Regions from separate parts of the Homo sapiens genome. Here regions 2, 3, 4 and 5 are each linked to region 1. The links are contacts of gene promoters, found by promoter capture Hi-C in blood cells and fetal thymus (Javierre and others, 2016). All regions are on one chromosome and are shown on one strand. The core of a region is centred on a gene start or on the middle of the fragment in contact, and the rest is flanking DNA. Distances in the headings are between cores, read along the strand shown.

What was found. Contacts are between HindIII fragments. The CHiCAGO score rates a contact against its expected background, and 5 or more counts as called.
Region 2: a fragment that was not itself captured here is called in contact with the fragment with the promoter of LEPR in region 1 in 1 of 17 cell types (naive CD4 T cells); the score reaches 6.9 in naive CD4 T cells.
Region 3: a contact is called between a fragment that was not itself captured here and the fragment with the promoter of LEPR in region 1, in 4 of 17 cell types (fetal thymus, naive CD4 T cells, non-activated CD4 T cells and 1 more). The highest score is 11.1, in fetal thymus.
Region 4: the fragment with the promoter of ALG6 here is called in contact with the fragment with the promoter of LEPR in region 1 in 6 of 17 cell types (non-activated CD4 T cells, naive CD8 T cells, total CD4 T cells and 3 more); the score reaches 10.5 in non-activated CD4 T cells.
Region 5: a fragment that was not itself captured here is called in contact with the fragment with the promoter of LEPR in region 1 in 1 of 17 cell types (total B cells); the score reaches 5.3 in total B cells.

What each region holds. Positions count from the first base shown.
Region 1 is chr1:65,419,233-65,422,360 of GRCh38, forward strand. It overlaps LEPR (leptin receptor), which reads left to right and starts at 1,436. Exons shown (of 20, transcript NM_002303.6): 1 at 1,436-1,508. LEPROT (leptin receptor overlapping transcript) reads left to right here and starts at 1,436. Exons shown (of 4, transcript NM_017526.5): 1 at 1,436-1,508. The coding sequence starts at 1,493. RefSeq lists enhancers at 750-1,282, 1,283-1,816, 1,890-1,939 and silencers at 930-999, 1,020-1,519. The HindIII fragment of the contact is 9,332 bases long and covers 380-3,128 here.
Region 2 is chr1:62,784,300-62,787,427 of GRCh38, forward strand. All of the region lies in intron 1 of ATG4C (autophagy related 4C cysteine peptidase), which reads left to right. Among named protein-coding and RNA genes, the nearest start is that of ATG4C, 1.7 kb to the left of the region's middle. RefSeq lists an enhancer at 1-43 and a silencer at 19-313. The HindIII fragment of the contact is 826 bases long and covers 999-1,824 here.
Region 3 is chr1:67,681,840-67,684,967 of GRCh38, forward strand. No RefSeq gene overlaps it. Among named protein-coding and RNA genes, the nearest start is that of GADD45A, 1.8 kb to the right of the region's middle. RefSeq lists a cis regulatory region at 771-1,263 and a silencer at 3,026-3,128. The HindIII fragment of the contact is 1,492 bases long and covers 961-2,452 here.
Region 4 is chr1:63,366,068-63,369,195 of GRCh38, forward strand. ALG6 (ALG6 alpha-1,3-glucosyltransferase) reads left to right here and starts at 1,560. Exons shown (of 15, transcript NM_013339.4): 1 at 1,560-1,620. RefSeq lists enhancers at 1,020-1,159, 2,020-2,129 and a silencer at 1,360-1,839. The HindIII fragment of the contact is 8,093 bases long and covers 1-3,128 here.
Region 5 is chr1:67,426,577-67,429,704 of GRCh38, forward strand. The region is part of intron 1 of SERBP1 (SERPINE1 mRNA binding protein 1); the gene reads right to left. Among named protein-coding and RNA genes, the nearest start is that of SERBP1, 2.3 kb to the right of the region's middle. RefSeq lists an enhancer at 2,363-2,999. The HindIII fragment of the contact is 686 bases long and covers 1,221-1,906 here.

The DNA.
Region 1 (3,128 bases), core at 186-2,685:
TTCAGTCCTTTTGAAAACGGAGAAAAAGCAAGAGAAGAGGGACGGCACCATCAGGTAGAGTGGATCTCAGCTAGAATGAGGGGAAGTGGCCCAGAATCCAACCTCCTCCAAAGAGCTGTGTGACAGGCAAGTCCTATCCTTTCTGCACCTCTTTCCTTAAATGTAAGTTGAAGCATTTGGACCAGACTGTTTCAATGATCTTCTAGATTGCTTTTGCCAAAACAGAACTCTCCATTCCTGTAAGATAAGTACACAATGGCTCTCAGAGATCTAAAAACTGGCCTTGGTTACCTGCAAACTTTGAGGCCCCAAGGCACAAAAATAATAGCTTTTTTTTTTTATTTTTTTTTTTAAGGTTCATGAAAGCTTCGGACACAAAAGCTTATATGGTCTTCGTCTCTATAAATAAACCAGGGAGTAAAGAAAAACCCCGCTAGTTTCAGTAAAGCGTTGCTATTAAGCAAAGCAAACCTATGCAAATATCAAGTTCTTAATGAGGAGTGTTTCCTAAGGGGCCTGTCCTCTGGTACCCCGCCTCTCCTCTGCCACAGTCATGTGAAGGCAGACAGGCACACACTCGCACACTAGCACGCACTTGGGAGCTCAGGGAACATAACACTGGTTAGTGAGTCGGTGTCCCTCTCCCATCGATTGCAACTTTTCCCCTCCTTCCCTCTCCTGCCTCTCCCCACTTTCTACATCTCCGTTCTCAGGAAGGCTCAGGGAGGATCCCCCGCTGCGTGCACTGCGTTCTGAGAGGCCGGGGAGAGACTCTGGGCCCGCGGTCGGGGCGGAGCCAAGGTCCCAACCCACATTGAACGGGCTTGAGGATTACTTGGAGGGCTCAGGATCTAGGAGGAGGGCCCAGGGCACTGGGTTGGGGTTACTCTGGGAAAGCTCTGTGGGACCAGGTGGGACCTTAGGGCTGGAGATGGACTCTGCGAGCTGGGGGCGGAGTTCTAGACTGGCAGGAGCGGAGTTCTGGGTGGCGGGGGCGGGGTCGGGACCAGCAGGGACGGCCTCTGAGAGTTGGGGGCGGAATTCTGGGCCGGTGAGGGCTGGGGCGGGACCAGCAGGGGAGGCCTCCGCGAGCTAGGGGAGGAGCTCTGCATTGTCTGGGGCGGGGCTTCGAGTAGCGGTAGCGAGGTCTGGAGCCGCAGGCGCTGCCTCCGCGAGGTAGGGGAGGAGCTCTGTACTGTCAGGGGCGGGGCTCTGAGTAGCGAGGCCGGGTCTGAACTATCAGGCGCGGCCTCTGCGAGCTGGGGGCGGGGTTCTGCACCGGCGGGGGCGGGGTTGTGAGTGGTGGGGGCGGGGTCTGGAGCAGCAGGCGCCGCGTTTGCGAGCTAAGGTCGGAGTTCTGCACCGGCGGGGGCGGGGCTCTGCGTGGCCGGGGCGGGCTCGGGATCCGCGGGGCGACTCCCGGTCTGGCTTGGGCAGGCTGCCCGGGCCGTGGCAGGAAGCCGGAAGCAGCCGCGGCCCCAGTTCGGGAGACATGGCGGGCGTTAAAGGTACATCGCGGTCCCCGGCTCGCTTGTCGTGTGGTGGGGTTGCCACCTCCGTTCCGGTCAAGCCTGGGGCTGCGCCTTCCGCGCGCCGTTGGGGAACGGCCTCACCACCCTTCCCGCCTCTCCGGTTCGGGAGGCGATCGACCGCTCCCTTCGTCCCTTGGGGTGTGGGTGGAGCGGCGTTTCGGGGGAGCCTTGGCCCTTTTTGCAAGGCCGCTGGCCTTCCTGCTCTCCAGTGGCGGCACCAGACCCCTCCCCAGCCTGAGCCCTCGGCGAGAGCGGCGCCCTCCACCTCTCCTGAGTTTTTAAACAAGGTTTCCACTTCTTGACGCCACCCTAACGCCTTTCTTCTGGTTTTCTGCCCCTCCGCAGTTTCCTATTTGCCACAAAGGACCCTTTGTCTCCAGCGTTCTTAGCATTGGGAAACTTAATCCTCTTTTTCCTAATGATTTTTCCAACTGGGCAGAGTTGACCGCGGGCGGGTGTCAATGGAAAGCACCCAGAAAGACGGTGTTTCTCGCAGTCGTGGAGAGTAGATTACGTGTAATTTTAATACTGCTTTCTTCGGTGTTTTCTCTGTTTATGGACAGAGAAGAAACCAGTGTGTGTGTAGTATGTGTTTTTTGCATGGGGCAGTTGGTAAAAACACCGCGTCCCTTATCTGTATGGCTTCAGAGCAATGCGAGACGGAAAAGGTTTTTTGCAAGGCTTCCTGTATTTTGGTAGGAAAACATTCCATTTCTAATCTGTCGAATAGAGTAGCATGACTTGTTTTTATATTGGCTTTTATATCATCCTTGAAATTTGCACCCAAAGATATCCCCAGTTAACATCTGCTATAAACATGTAGATAGTATATATACGAGTACGCCTCTGTTCACTATGAATTTATCCGAGTATGTGAGCTGTTAGCAGCAGACATTTTATCGTTATTTCTGGCTGACTTTTATACTTAATATCAGTTTAGTAAACATGGTTTACTTGGAGAGTGTCGACTGTGTTATATATCCATTTGAAGCCAATGCCGAAAACAGATGAAAAGTAGTGTCTCAGTACTACACATGATCAGAAACTACCAAATCATGATCACGTTTATGTGTGAATGTGTTAGAAAATTGTGATGTAGTGAAAAAAAAGGAAGTCTGAAATGGAAACGGACTAAGGGAAGGAAGCATTTTACAGATTGTTCAACTTTTATTGAGGAACTACTGTATGCCAGAGACTTAGGATACAAAGATAAATGAGAAGTTATTGGTGGGTGACAGAGCTGGAAATAATTATATTACTATGTCAGTGTTTATGTTGGGCTCAGATGCGGTGGGAGAACAGATGGTGGGTTGGATTTTGTCCTCCAAAAAGATGTGTTCAAGCTCTAATTCCCTGGTACCTGTGAATGTGATCTTATTTGGAAGTAGTATCTTTGCAGATATAATCAAATTAAAATGATAACTGGTTTAAGGTGGGCCCTAATCCAATGACTGGTGTCCTTATAAGAAGAGGGGAATTTAGACATAGAGACATACAGGGAGAATACCATGGGAAGACGGAGACAGAAATTGGAGTGATGCAGCTACAAAGTCAGGAGCACCAAAGATTGTTGGCAACCATGCTGGCAACCACTGA
Region 2 (3,128 bases), core at 162-2,661, 2.6 Mb before region 1:
AGTCAAGAAGTTTGGGACTTAGCGTCTCTGGTCCCCGAATGACTGGGTTTCTTGCGGGGGTCCGCCTTCAGTGAAGACCCTGTGGCCAACCATCTGGGTTCTCTGAGGGTTTTGGCGCCTTCCTTGTCTCTCCTTTCTAGTGTCATTTGTCTTCTAACTCTTCCTCGCTTTGTCCTGGGTTGCAGAGATAAACCGTAAGCCTAACTGTGGGCAGCTGTTCCTCCTTTCCTTGTGGTTTTCTTAGATGTTGCAGGCAAGACTCTTTCCCCTGATCTATCGCATCCATTTGACCCCTCCTCATGCCAGTGCTCTGTCGGCCCTGTTTTTCCTCGTTTAAAAAATAAAAAAAGGGAAATAATAATAATAACTGGATCCCCACTGTCTCTCTGTTCTCATTCCTAGCCTCTTTCTCCCTTTTTGGTGTTTGTTACTGCTTCAAGCCATAACACACTGCCTTGCATATATTAATGCCTTTCCATCTAAATATTAACGTTCATTCACTTCATTTGGTTCCCGCTCACCGTGAACTCTCCCAACCCTACCCACATCTAAGGGCTTTTGAGGTTGGAGGTGTAGAATAAATTCTTACATATGATGACTATATTCATATATGAGAACCTTCAGCGGTCAACTCAGCATCACTGCTTATTGAGTTTATATTTCTTGTGATTTCTTTGGCTTACCTTTTCGTTTTGTATTGGTTATTTACCCACATGGGGCTCACTGCTACCCTATAGTTACAGAAGAATACCTCGTCTTACATCTTTTTATATCCGAATTACTTAGGAGTTTTCTTATGTTTTCCTGCTCGGACCATATGTCCCCGGTGGGTTTTTGGCAATGATTTTGTGTCAGTTGATGGCAGAAAGAGACAAGGGAATGATCTTCTTGCTTGCTTGTGACTTGTAATTAGATTATGAGCCATTGAGAATACCCAGAGGGAGTGGAAAGGCTTTGAAAGGTAAAGTCTATGTATTTTCTGAGTTTCAAATTGATAAAGCTTCTTCTTTGAACAGGAAGAGTTTCTATTTAGTCCAATAATCTGAGGCTATATTGAATTACCAGTTCATTCGCTATAAAATTTTTAGAACCACATGTCAAAAAGTGGCCCATCTAAAGAATTGTATAATTTAGCAAAAAGTCATTAAAAGCCATTTAATTAATGCTCTTTTTCTTTAAAATAGGATTCAAGTATTTGGAAAAATGTATTTATGGTGATTGGTTATGAAGTATTTCTAGATGTTTTGATGGTTCTGGTGAACAGCATCGTATTCTGTTCACTAATGTTTTATAAAAAGGCAGAAATTTTCTGGCTTTCTGGGGAACCACGTAACTCAAATGAGTTTGCAGCTCGTTTTCTATTCCAATTATTGCACTAAAGAGGTTCTTATACTAAGATTATCATTCTTTTTTAAGCTATCAAGTATGATCTATACATGTCAGTAAAATATAAATATTAATACTGGTACAATGTTAAATTGGGATTATTCCTAATTAATGCACAAAATGCTGAAATGGTTTCAGCCATGCTTAAGATTTGGGGCGAAATATATTTCAGAATAAATTTACTCATATAATTTTTTATTGAAAAAAATGATACGGTAGCCATTACTCAATCTTTTAATATTTTTCCTGAGATTTTATTCATTTAGTAGGAATTTAGTGACTACTTACTATTTAACTATTGTCACAAAATCACCAAAACATTTGTTTGTAAGAGTATCCTCTTGTCCTCAGCTCTGCATAGATACTTTTAAAGCATTAGCGCAGTTATTCCAACTAAGCTATTGAGTATTATTTACATTTAACAGATGAAAAAACTGAAGCTTGAAGAATTTAAGGAAATTAATTCAGTTCTTTTCGACTCTTCCCACTGTACAACAGCTGCAAGGATCTGTGCTCTATCCTGAAATATATAAAGAGCGTTAAATCAACATATGCTTACTGAGCAGCTATTCATACCAGACACTCTTCAAGGTGCTGGGGATATAGAGTGAACAAGAAAAGTCCCTGCTCTTAGGGAGCTTATACTCTAGCAGAATGTATGAGATGTAAACTTTCCCTTCAAGAAGCAGAAAATATAGTCAATATGTATTAGATTTTACGGGAGTGTTTTAGAATGTTAAAGGTGAGAAGAGAGATAACTAGGGAATGTTTCATGAAGATGAGATCTAATGTGGAATTTAAATAGTGGTTAGGGATTGGTAGGTAGAAATTAGGACCCTGTCTCAAAAAAAAAAAAAACAAGTGAAAATCTGTGATATAGAATAATTGGTGAGCCTTATAAAGCACTTTATTTTTATTTTTTGGACTATATATAAGTAAAATTGTAATATTTGACATGCATTCAATCATTTAGCATTTATTTATTAACTAGACACTCTTCTAGGCCACAGTGGTATAGTAGTGAGTAAATACGGTGTTTACCCTCATAGAATTTACTAACAGAGGAGGCAGACATAAATCAAATAGTCAAAGAAATTTAAAGTTACAACTGTGGTAAATGCTATTAAAAAAGGACTTGATGTTACACAGAGGAAGAACTGATTACAGAGGGGATAAGAGTGGGGATGGGGAGAGGCCAGTTAGAAGATTGTTGGAGTGGCCCAATTGAGAGATGGTATTTTGGACAAGGTGGTGGTGGTAAGATGGATTCCAGAGGTGTTCAGGAGGTGGAACTAGGCGATGGATTAGATATGGAAGGTGAGGGAGAGGAAGATATCATGGGCTAATCTTAGGTTTTTGGCTTATATAACTGGAAGGATTGTTGCACCCTTCACCGAGGTAGAGAACATCGAAAGAGGACCAGGTTTGGGAAACATGCTTTGTTTATTAGTATTTTTTGTTGTGGTAGCAGTGTTTAAGGTTAATTTCTTAGTTATTTTTACCCTTTTGTGTCATTGTTGTAGTTTTGTATATTTGAGTAATACTATGCCTAAAATAGGTTTTTTTGGTATCATTTTTTCTTGATTGAGCAGGGGTGGGGTTCTACATGAAAGCATCTGGAAATATGTTGGTCTCTGTTTTGAATCTATCTGTAATATATTAAACCATGTATATGAATAGGTAACTGAATAATGCAGTTACATGCCATCTTTATTTTCACTTGAGATTTGGTAGTAAACTGG
Region 3 (3,128 bases), core at 457-2,956, 2.3 Mb after region 1:
TCCACCCGCCTTGGCCTCCCAAAGTGCTGGGATTACAGGTGTGAGCCACCACACCTGGCCCCAACTAATTTTTGTATTTTTAGTAGAGGTGGGGTTTTACCATGTTGGCCAGGCTGGTTTTGAACTCCTGACCTCAGGTGATCCGACCTCCTCAGCCTCTCAAAGTGCTGGGATTACAGGCGTGAGCTACTGCACCTGACCAGGAACCTTATGATTTTTAACAAGAAAAAATAATACAATACAATTCTAGGTAGGTGGAAAATACATCCATCATAGTTGAACTGATCTTCTCCTTTGATGTGGACAATGATCTAATACTGAAATAACAAGCATTATATTTCTTTCAGATGTTAAAGCATTGATTGTTTTTTGAAAGAAAGAAAGAATAATTCTGCATTATGGAACCAGTAGTAGGAATGTATGTAGGATAAGCATGACTAAAATATCAAAAAGATCTTTAATATGCAAAGCAAGTAGCAGTGCTAAAATAATTGAACAATTCTTGAGTATATATTTCCATATGATTTCTAAATATAATCATTTGGTATCTTTACAAACATTACTACAAGAGCATTCTACTCCTGTGTACTTGGCAGTTGTCAGAGTTACCTGTAGTGGTTTTTAAAATGACATCACATATTGGAGTTATCACACTGATTATAAAGAAATATATATATATATATAATATTGATATAGGAAAATTTCTCTGATTTACCATTGACTATCAATGTCCTCCAGGACTAATAAACAGTTAATGATAAATCAACTATGTCCATTCTAATGTGTAACTACAATCTAACTGTGTAGCTAAATGCAGTTTTTACTTCCAGTCATGAGGCCCAACTTTGAAGATAATCACTGAGAAAACATTCTAGGTATACTCAGCAATCAGGCAAAATGATGTAACGTATCTGAGTCAGAAAGTATGACAAATGAATATTTTTGCATACTGGAAGCCCAAGCTTATCTCAGAGAAAATCCCCAAAATACTTGGGCAAATAACTTTCTGATGAAGTCAAATATAGCATGCAGTATAATTTTTGAGTGGAGGACTAAGCCTATAATAAGAAGTAACCATTTGATATCACATTTTTACTGGATATAGTCGACTTGGGTGGGGCACTTTAGGACTGTGGTTCATTTGAATTGGTGTAAACAATACACCGGTTCTACTGTCCTACAGCCTCCATTCAGATGACTGAAGTCATGGGACTTTCAGCATAGCTAGCTGATGACAGTGCATACTATTTTGTCCCAAAATCCAGTTCAAGCATGGACATACCAATAAGAGCCTAAGCTCTTTAAAGGCAAAGGACCAGGAATTGTACAGTTCTTGGTATAGAAGAAGACAGGCAAAAGTGTTTTTGAACTAACGTTAAATGTGCAATATGTTAGAATTCATGCAATGCACAGGACTGCAGGATTCTGATATCTTATTTAACTCTCAAATTCTATTCAACTCAATAAACCTTGACTGTGCTTCTACTAAATGCAGGTATTGTACTAGGAGCTGAGGACACCAAACTGATGAAGTCCTTGCTGTCAAGAAACTCACATGATTCCCTAATTCTTTGTCAGCTTGCTGTGATCACATTTTCTTCCCAAGAACCTCTAAGAAATGCCTAGTGGATAGAACCTTGGAGTTCCACGGAACATATTAACAATCGCCAAATGATGACTCAGGCTAGATTGTGTAATTCAGGTTTTGTCTGCAAAACTGAAAATGCTTCGGTAACCTACCTAAATTTCAATGTTGAGGAATTCTTTAAGAAAGACATCAAATGTTAAGATTTAAGGCATAGATATGAGATACATAGTCATGCTTAGGTGAATTATGCACTGACCATGACCATTTCTTTACTCAAATGTTGTCCATGGCTGACAACACAGTGAAAAAATGAGTGCAAAATGACAACTCAAATAAATGAACCAGAAAACCTATCACTTTTCTTTTCCACCAAATTAAGATCAAGAGAGCTGGAGAATATTTTGTCTAGAGTGATAAAAACATAAGGGTGCAAAACTTCCAGGTACCTTTGCAGAAATTACTTCTGTGACCTTTGGCTGTACAGCAACCTTAATAATGCAAGCACTGTTTTGAATGCAAGCATGTGGGAGCCATTTTCACCACTTTTGATGACTTCAGTAGGTTTAAGAAATGTTTTTGCTTTTATTGCATAAACCATAAAACAAAGGAAGGGACTTTTGAACTACTCAGTGAGAGTCTATATATTAAAGTTTGTTTTTCAAAAATGTGTAACTACCATTTGCAGTTTTAAAGGTCTGCTTTCCACCTACAAGTTGCCATTATCTCAAAGGTGAAATTTTAGCATATGACTAAAAACTTCCTATAGTTACAGCTTCATGATTCAGCATCTAACATCAATAATTCACAGTGAGATCATAGGAGGCTCTCTGTGGAAGGTAACGACATACATACGTTAGGAAAGGAAGCTTAGGGCATATCGAGAGCATTTTGAATTTAGACTTGTGGGCTGTGTGGGTGTCAGATGGTTGTCTCTCAGCTGGTGGGCGTCCAGAAGGATCCTTGTTTGGGCAAGGCTCTTTGAGAAAGGAGAATCTGGGTTGCCAGGGATTCCCACATGTGGTCACCAGCTCCCCACGCAGACCAGCTCACGATTTCCCAGTTACACCGGGCAGGTGGGAAACCGTTCTGCTTTCTGTGGAAAAGATTCTAACTTGGTTCCCTGCCATCCCTGAATACAAACGGGTTGGTTTTTCTTTTTTCAGCTTCCAACCCTTGCAGCTTTCCAAAAATAAATCAAACCAGCCATCAGGGCACCGAAATAATACTACTGCTAATAAGCAGCTTCGCCTAGACTTAGATAAACAACACTTCTGAGGTAAACTTTGCCCCGGAGGTCTGGAGACACTTTTTTAATGTAACCTGCTTACTAATAATTACTAGACTTCAGTGCATTAACCCTGGAAATAGATTTTAATAGCCACCCCTTAAAACAAAAGACATGAAAAGATAATAAGAAAAAAGTGCCGCAACTATTATAGAAAAACACTTGGCAGCCTGCTTCAGCCCAAGCTGAGGCCACCTCTAGCCTCTGCTAAAGCCCCCCACTCCCAATGGTCCCCGCCAACCGGATAAGAGTGCG
Region 4 (3,128 bases), core at 310-2,809, 2.1 Mb before region 1:
ATGTTTCTTCTTGCATTGATCTCTCCCTTTGCAGTTCCACTATTGCCATCTCAGTCCAAGCCCTTGTCTAATCATGCGTGGACTGCTATAGTCTCCCTCTGATTCATCTGATCCATTTTCACCACTTTAAGTTTTCTCTAACACTGTAACTGTACTGTATACTTGACTCCCTGCTAAAAGTCATTTAATAGCCCCTTACTGATCACTGGATACATTCCAGACACCATAGCCTGGTATTCAAGGCTCTCTACAATTACCAGTCCTTTCCAGCTTCATCACCCACCACCTAAACTAGAGGAAATGTTCTACACTTTTCAGCTGCCACAATATTTGGCTTGAACCATTTCCTTTGTCTAGATTCTTACTCTCATTCTCTGGGCTTATCCAGCCAGGCTTTCCTTCAAAGCTCAGCTGACTCCTCCAGGAAAAGCATTTCCTGATGGTTTGCAGTTTACAGTGAACCCTCTTCTCCTAACTCCTACAGTGCTTAGTGCATATGTAAGTAATGTAACATTTAGTATGTGTTTCCTTCTATAGCTTTTTATCCTTTTATGCATAAAAATGTCTTTCCAATGAGAATTAAATGCCTTGAGGGCAGGGACCTGCCATATTTCTCCATATTCCCAGTGCTGATGGTCTTTTAGATATAATCATATTTTAGACCTGGAAGTTCACCTAGCCCTACTGATTTCTTTCACAGTTGAAGAAACTGAGGCCCAGAGAGAAGTTATTCAGACTCAGTAGAAAGCCATAGTCCTAGCCAAATATTTGCTAACACTTACAAATTATAGGGGTTGGCTTACGTAGAATGGCAAGATTCAGAAGTGGGGAATGAGGGCACTCTCTGAACAAAGGAAGGCAAGTAAAAATCATCACAGCCGTCCATGCGTGATTGGACAGAAGCCTAGACTGAGATGGAAATAGTGGAACTGGAAAGGAAGGGATCAATGCAAAAGGAAAAGTGTGCAGGTCTTACTAACTTACTAGATAGGTATTTTTGGCAAGTTTGGGACCAGGTGATTCAAGCTGCCCGCTGGGGCACGTGTAGTGGCTACTCGAGGGCAGGGCTGTCCTTTTGCACAACGCACAGGCTCTCGCAAATGGTTGGATGTTCAATGTTTCTTACTTTAGGGGGCTGCCCAGTCTTCTTCTTCGCAGGCATGTGGCTAGAAGAAAGTGAAGCAGGTTGGCTTTCTGGCTCCTCGAGGGCACAGGCCCAGAGGTGGTGAGGACCGGCCAAGGCTCTCTGCTCAGTGCAGCAAGCCAGGGCCCGCCCCTGACAGGAATCCGTTGGCTAAGCAGCCGCTCCGGCCTTGGCCACGATCCCAGGAAAGAAGAGCAAGGGGCTTTCCACCTGCCCCTAGCCTAACCCGGGGCTGGGGACCTCTCGGGTTCCATCGGCTCTTGCCCCGCCTCCTAAGCCGGCCGCCTCCTGTCCAGGCCAGGTTGCCCGCCCCTCCCCTCACGCTCGACGGGCTCGCTCCCGCACCGGGCGCGCGGGTGGTGCGCGGGCACACGGAGGCGGAAGGCCGGAGGGGCAGTCCGCCGCGGGGGCGAGCGCGCATGCGCCTTCCTGGGACCCACGGCAGGCGCGAATCCCAGCGGCCGGCGGGCGGCGGGGTAAGAGCATGGGATCCCGGAGGTTCCGGACCCCAGGCCAGTGTGGGGAGGTGCCGGGGGCTCGGACGCGCCACGAGCCGGCGCAGAGCTGGCGACCCGTCTCCCAGCTCCGCTCCACTCCCAGGGACGCGACGCGAGGCCTCCCCAGCCCTTCCTGCAGGGTCGCTTGTGGGTCGGGTGAGGGGACGCGGTGATAGTGGTGGCACTTGCAGGCTGGGGCGGTCCTGGCACCCTTGTCCTTGCGGTTCTGAGGGCCTGGCCCTCAAGAGGAGGGGCGGAGAAACGCGAGAAGGGATCCCTTTCGCCCCATATACACGCCCGGGATAGCTGCACTCCCCGGTGTTGTGTCCACTGCGGTGGAAGGACCTTTCAGACTAAAAGGAGCAAAGTCGGTTCTGGGATGGGGACGGCGGGCTTGGCATTTGTCGAGATGCACCGTCAGGGCAAAGGAGGACGAAAAGCGCATCTACTGCCTGCCTAGCAACTTCGTGGCCAGTGGATGGGTTAGAAAATTACTGTTTTCTGATTTACAGGTGGAAAAAGTCGCAAATAACCCTTTTTCTGGTTTAAGCAGAAGAGAGTCGTTAAAAGCCTCGCATAATATCTTTAACCACACAGGGCTCAGTAAAATTAGGGTACCTCCCCGCTTCGTACACACAGACGCACACAGCTCCATTCAGCAAATACTTCTTGGGTACCTGCCTTCTGCTAACACTGTTCTACAAGTGGGGAACAGAGAGCAACGACTAAGACAGGAGGATCCCTGCTCACAGGGAGCCTTTAGTCAACACATCCAAGTAATTTCCTTTTACACTTTTTTTTTTTTTAATTGAGACAGAGTCTTGCTCTGTCGCCCAGGCTGGAGTGCAGTGGCACGATCTTGGCTCACTGCAACCTCTGCCTCCCGGGTTCGAGCGATTTTCCTGCCTCAGCCTCACGAGTAGCTGGGATTACAGGAACGCACCACCACGCCCAGCTAATTTTTGTATTTTTAGTAGAGATGGGGTTTCACCATGTTGACCAGGCTGGTCTCGAACTCCTGACCTCAGGTGATCCACCTGCCTCGGCCTCCCAAAGTGCTGGGATTACAGGGGTGAACCACTGCGCCCAGCCCCTTTTATGCTTTTTAAATTGGAATATACCATATAGAAAAATACTGTACGCAAATTATAAGTTGTAACTTGTTAATTTATCCTAAAGTCAACACATTTCCTAACCACTACTCAAATCAAGAAGGAAGATTCACAGCATTTCAGAACACCTCTCTGGGCACCCCTCCCAACCACCATCCCTTCTTTCCTCCCCAAAGGTAACCTCTTTCCTGATTTTTAACACCATAGATTAGTTTTGCCTATTTATGAACCTTTCATGGAACCATATGATATGTATTCTTTGGTGTCCAGCATTTATACTGAAAATTATGTGTGTGAGATTGCACCATGTCATGTGAAAATACAAATCCTGTTAGTGAAAAGAATTAGGAAGCAAATTGAAGGTAATGATACAAA
Region 5 (3,128 bases), core at 314-2,813, 2.0 Mb after region 1:
TTCTATAACTGACTTGGAAATCATTTGGGCAACCATTATTCCCGTCACTTTCCAAGATAGTCTCTTAATAAAAACTTTTAAATTTAAAAAATTTTAGGCAAGCAATACATTTTGGCTTTTAAAATACCAAAGAAAATACCAGCAGCCATTCATAAATAACCAAGCAAATCAACACACTCACTAGATATGGCCCCTCACAAAAGTGAGGGCCGCACTATGTTATTCTATCTAATCTGAAAAAAAAATGCAATTAAGACTCATAATTCTATAAAATTACAAATCTGAAAGGAAAATATGGCATTTAGGATTATTAGAGAACATCACTTCAGTTTAAAACAGCCATTTAACCAGAAAAAGTGTCATCTTTTGGTCTTCTTAGCTACAGGCACACAAAAAGGGCCATCTTCCCCTATTAAAGTTTAAAATTTTATAGCATGTAAGTGTATATATGTTTGTACACACTCCCACATCCCTAAGTACTTCCAAGTTAGGAAACAGTTACTTATTATGCATGGAGAGAGTCCTCTAAAAAATTTGCCCTAACAACTATCTTTATTTTCAAAGAATCTTTAAAAACCAAATACACACACGTTAAGACCGCTTTTAAGCAACATGTAAGAAATAAGAAAACTTGTGACACTAAGTGATAGCTGAAGCATTTACTAATTTCCCCCTTTACTACTTTTTTCCTGTAATGTCTGAAACCCCACAAAGGCAACCAATTTAAATTATTGGTGCCCATAAGGATCAACAGATTGATGGTTAAATTAATGACTTTAAGATTGTTGGTATGCTCTAATTCCCAATTTCTGACAAAGTCATAAAGCAGCTGAGGAATTGGTTTTACAAGATTTTAAGCTGCTTCACTTTGGTTCTTTCTAAGAAAGTAGAACACCATCAAGACACACCCAGTTGTTCTGCTGCCTGTTAACTGGAGCCAAACAGTAACTATCAATCTCTTCAATAGAATTTTGAAGTTCATTCCCTGTAAATACTCAAGATAGACTACAAATATTAGACCTTACACCAAGGTATTTAAATAAATGTCATCAGTAATAAAGTGCACTGGGGTGGAGTTATGGAACCAGTCCTTGCAATAATATCCAAGCCAAACACACCCAAGTGAACAATAGTTGGCGTCCCCACCCAATATCAAGTTTACAGAATCTTAAAAACGTATTAAACCTACCTAATGAAAAAGACTGACATTTAAAAATGCAAGCTTCTTTTGATATACTTATCTATAACTTGCAAGCTCACTAACTGCACTAGTTTCAAGGCATTCATTCTTTTTTAGAAAATCCCTGGTCTACACTCTCAATGACATTCTGCTGTCAATTCTCAAGTTCTTCAAATGGGCAAGAGAATGTACAAAATTAATTCATAAAACATAAACATTAAATATCTGTCTAAAGTATGTCAAGTATTATGTCACAATGTGTTATCAAAATCACAGAACACAATCAGGTTAACCTTCCTACTACATGCAGCGACTTTGTTTACAGATTTATTCCCAGTAATCAGGACAGTAGAATCTCAAAACGGGTATTGTCCATTCAACACTTTTCCTGTATTTTACATGCTTGTATTTTATGCAACTTAACAGTAGTGCTCTGAAATACTGACCTAAGGAAAATGCTGATTGCTAACATGGAATAGTTTTCCCATGGAAAGACTCATTGAACGGTGAACCTAAGTCTTGGTTCTAACTTCATGAAATCATTCCCCACATTTGTTAACTTAAAATACTACTTTTCAGGTAAGAGCTTATTTCATAGATGGGCTTCATGATCAAAATAACTCAGGCATTTAAACCATGCTTCATGTTTTGAACATTCAAAATGAGTGAACACATCTACCTGGTACACATTATTCGTCAGATTCAACTTTTTCGTGTACTTTCTTAAGCTTAAGCATAGTTTAAATAATTACACAAGTCAGCGTTACTTAACACACGAATTAAATGATTTATTTAATTGTGCTAGATTGCCATAAAGCTTAACTGGCTGAAGAGATACTTGGCCTAAGTGATATACATGCTTTCTAATACTCCAACTGTATTTTTCCTCAACCTATAATTTTACCACAAGAATTAATTATTTTCTTTTATTCACCACCTAGGACCGAGGTTCTTCATTCCGAGCCTCACAAAAGTCCTCAAAAAAAAAAAAAAAAACCCTCCTAAAACAAATCCTACCACGAGAAAATTGTTTTGATTTTTAAAATTAGTTCACTGTTACAGAATTCAACTAAAGCTAAAGAGAAACAACTCCTTTCAGAGAAGCACGTGGCAGGAAGGGGTAATTTCAACTTTCAACATATAAATGCAGCTTTAAAGATTCAGACCTTAGGTCCAACACCTGCTTGCTATTGATCATGCACGTTCTTATCTCCAAACTGCTTGCTCTTTTTTTTCATCCGCAACAAACTGGTAAAGCGAATGCAAAAATCAAGACAATCCTGTGAAACTCACAGTGCCCTAGAAACAACTATTAACCGCCAGTGAAACTCTGACCATGCTTCACGCACATGTGGTGGAAAAAAAAAACTGCGAACTCTAAAGAGCTCTGCTGCGACTAACGCTGTGACAGCCTCTGCACTCACTTCACCCACGAGGCCCAGACCCCACCACGTGAAAGATTCAGTTTGGGGAGTCGAGAGAGAGGATCGTGACTCGAGGACGTTCCTCGGGATGTCCTGCAATCACCAGTCTTCATTCATAATTCCCGCTCCTGGTTAATCGAGTGTGGCCAAACTCCTCCATTTCCCAACGGCTCAACTCACCCCAGCAAGTTATGAGAAAGTCCTAACAGTTGAGAGGTGGAAGAGAAACAAATAAAGGACATGCGGCACCCCAACCTGCAGCTTACTCCACACGTCTGATGGCCTGGAACGACCCCCTGCTTTTCAGCGGGGATACTCCGCGCCGTCGTGGGACAAGACGGCAGGACAGGAGCCTGAAACAACAGCACCTCAAAGGAGCAGCTCTGCGCAGTAAGCAGCGATGGACCCCCAAGCTCCTCCGTAACTACGGAAAGCTTCGGTGAGGGGCCGGCTTCCCCGCACCTCAGTCCATGCGCTCACCCGCCAAGGAATCCGGCGGGAAGGCAACAGCCTCCCAGGACCTC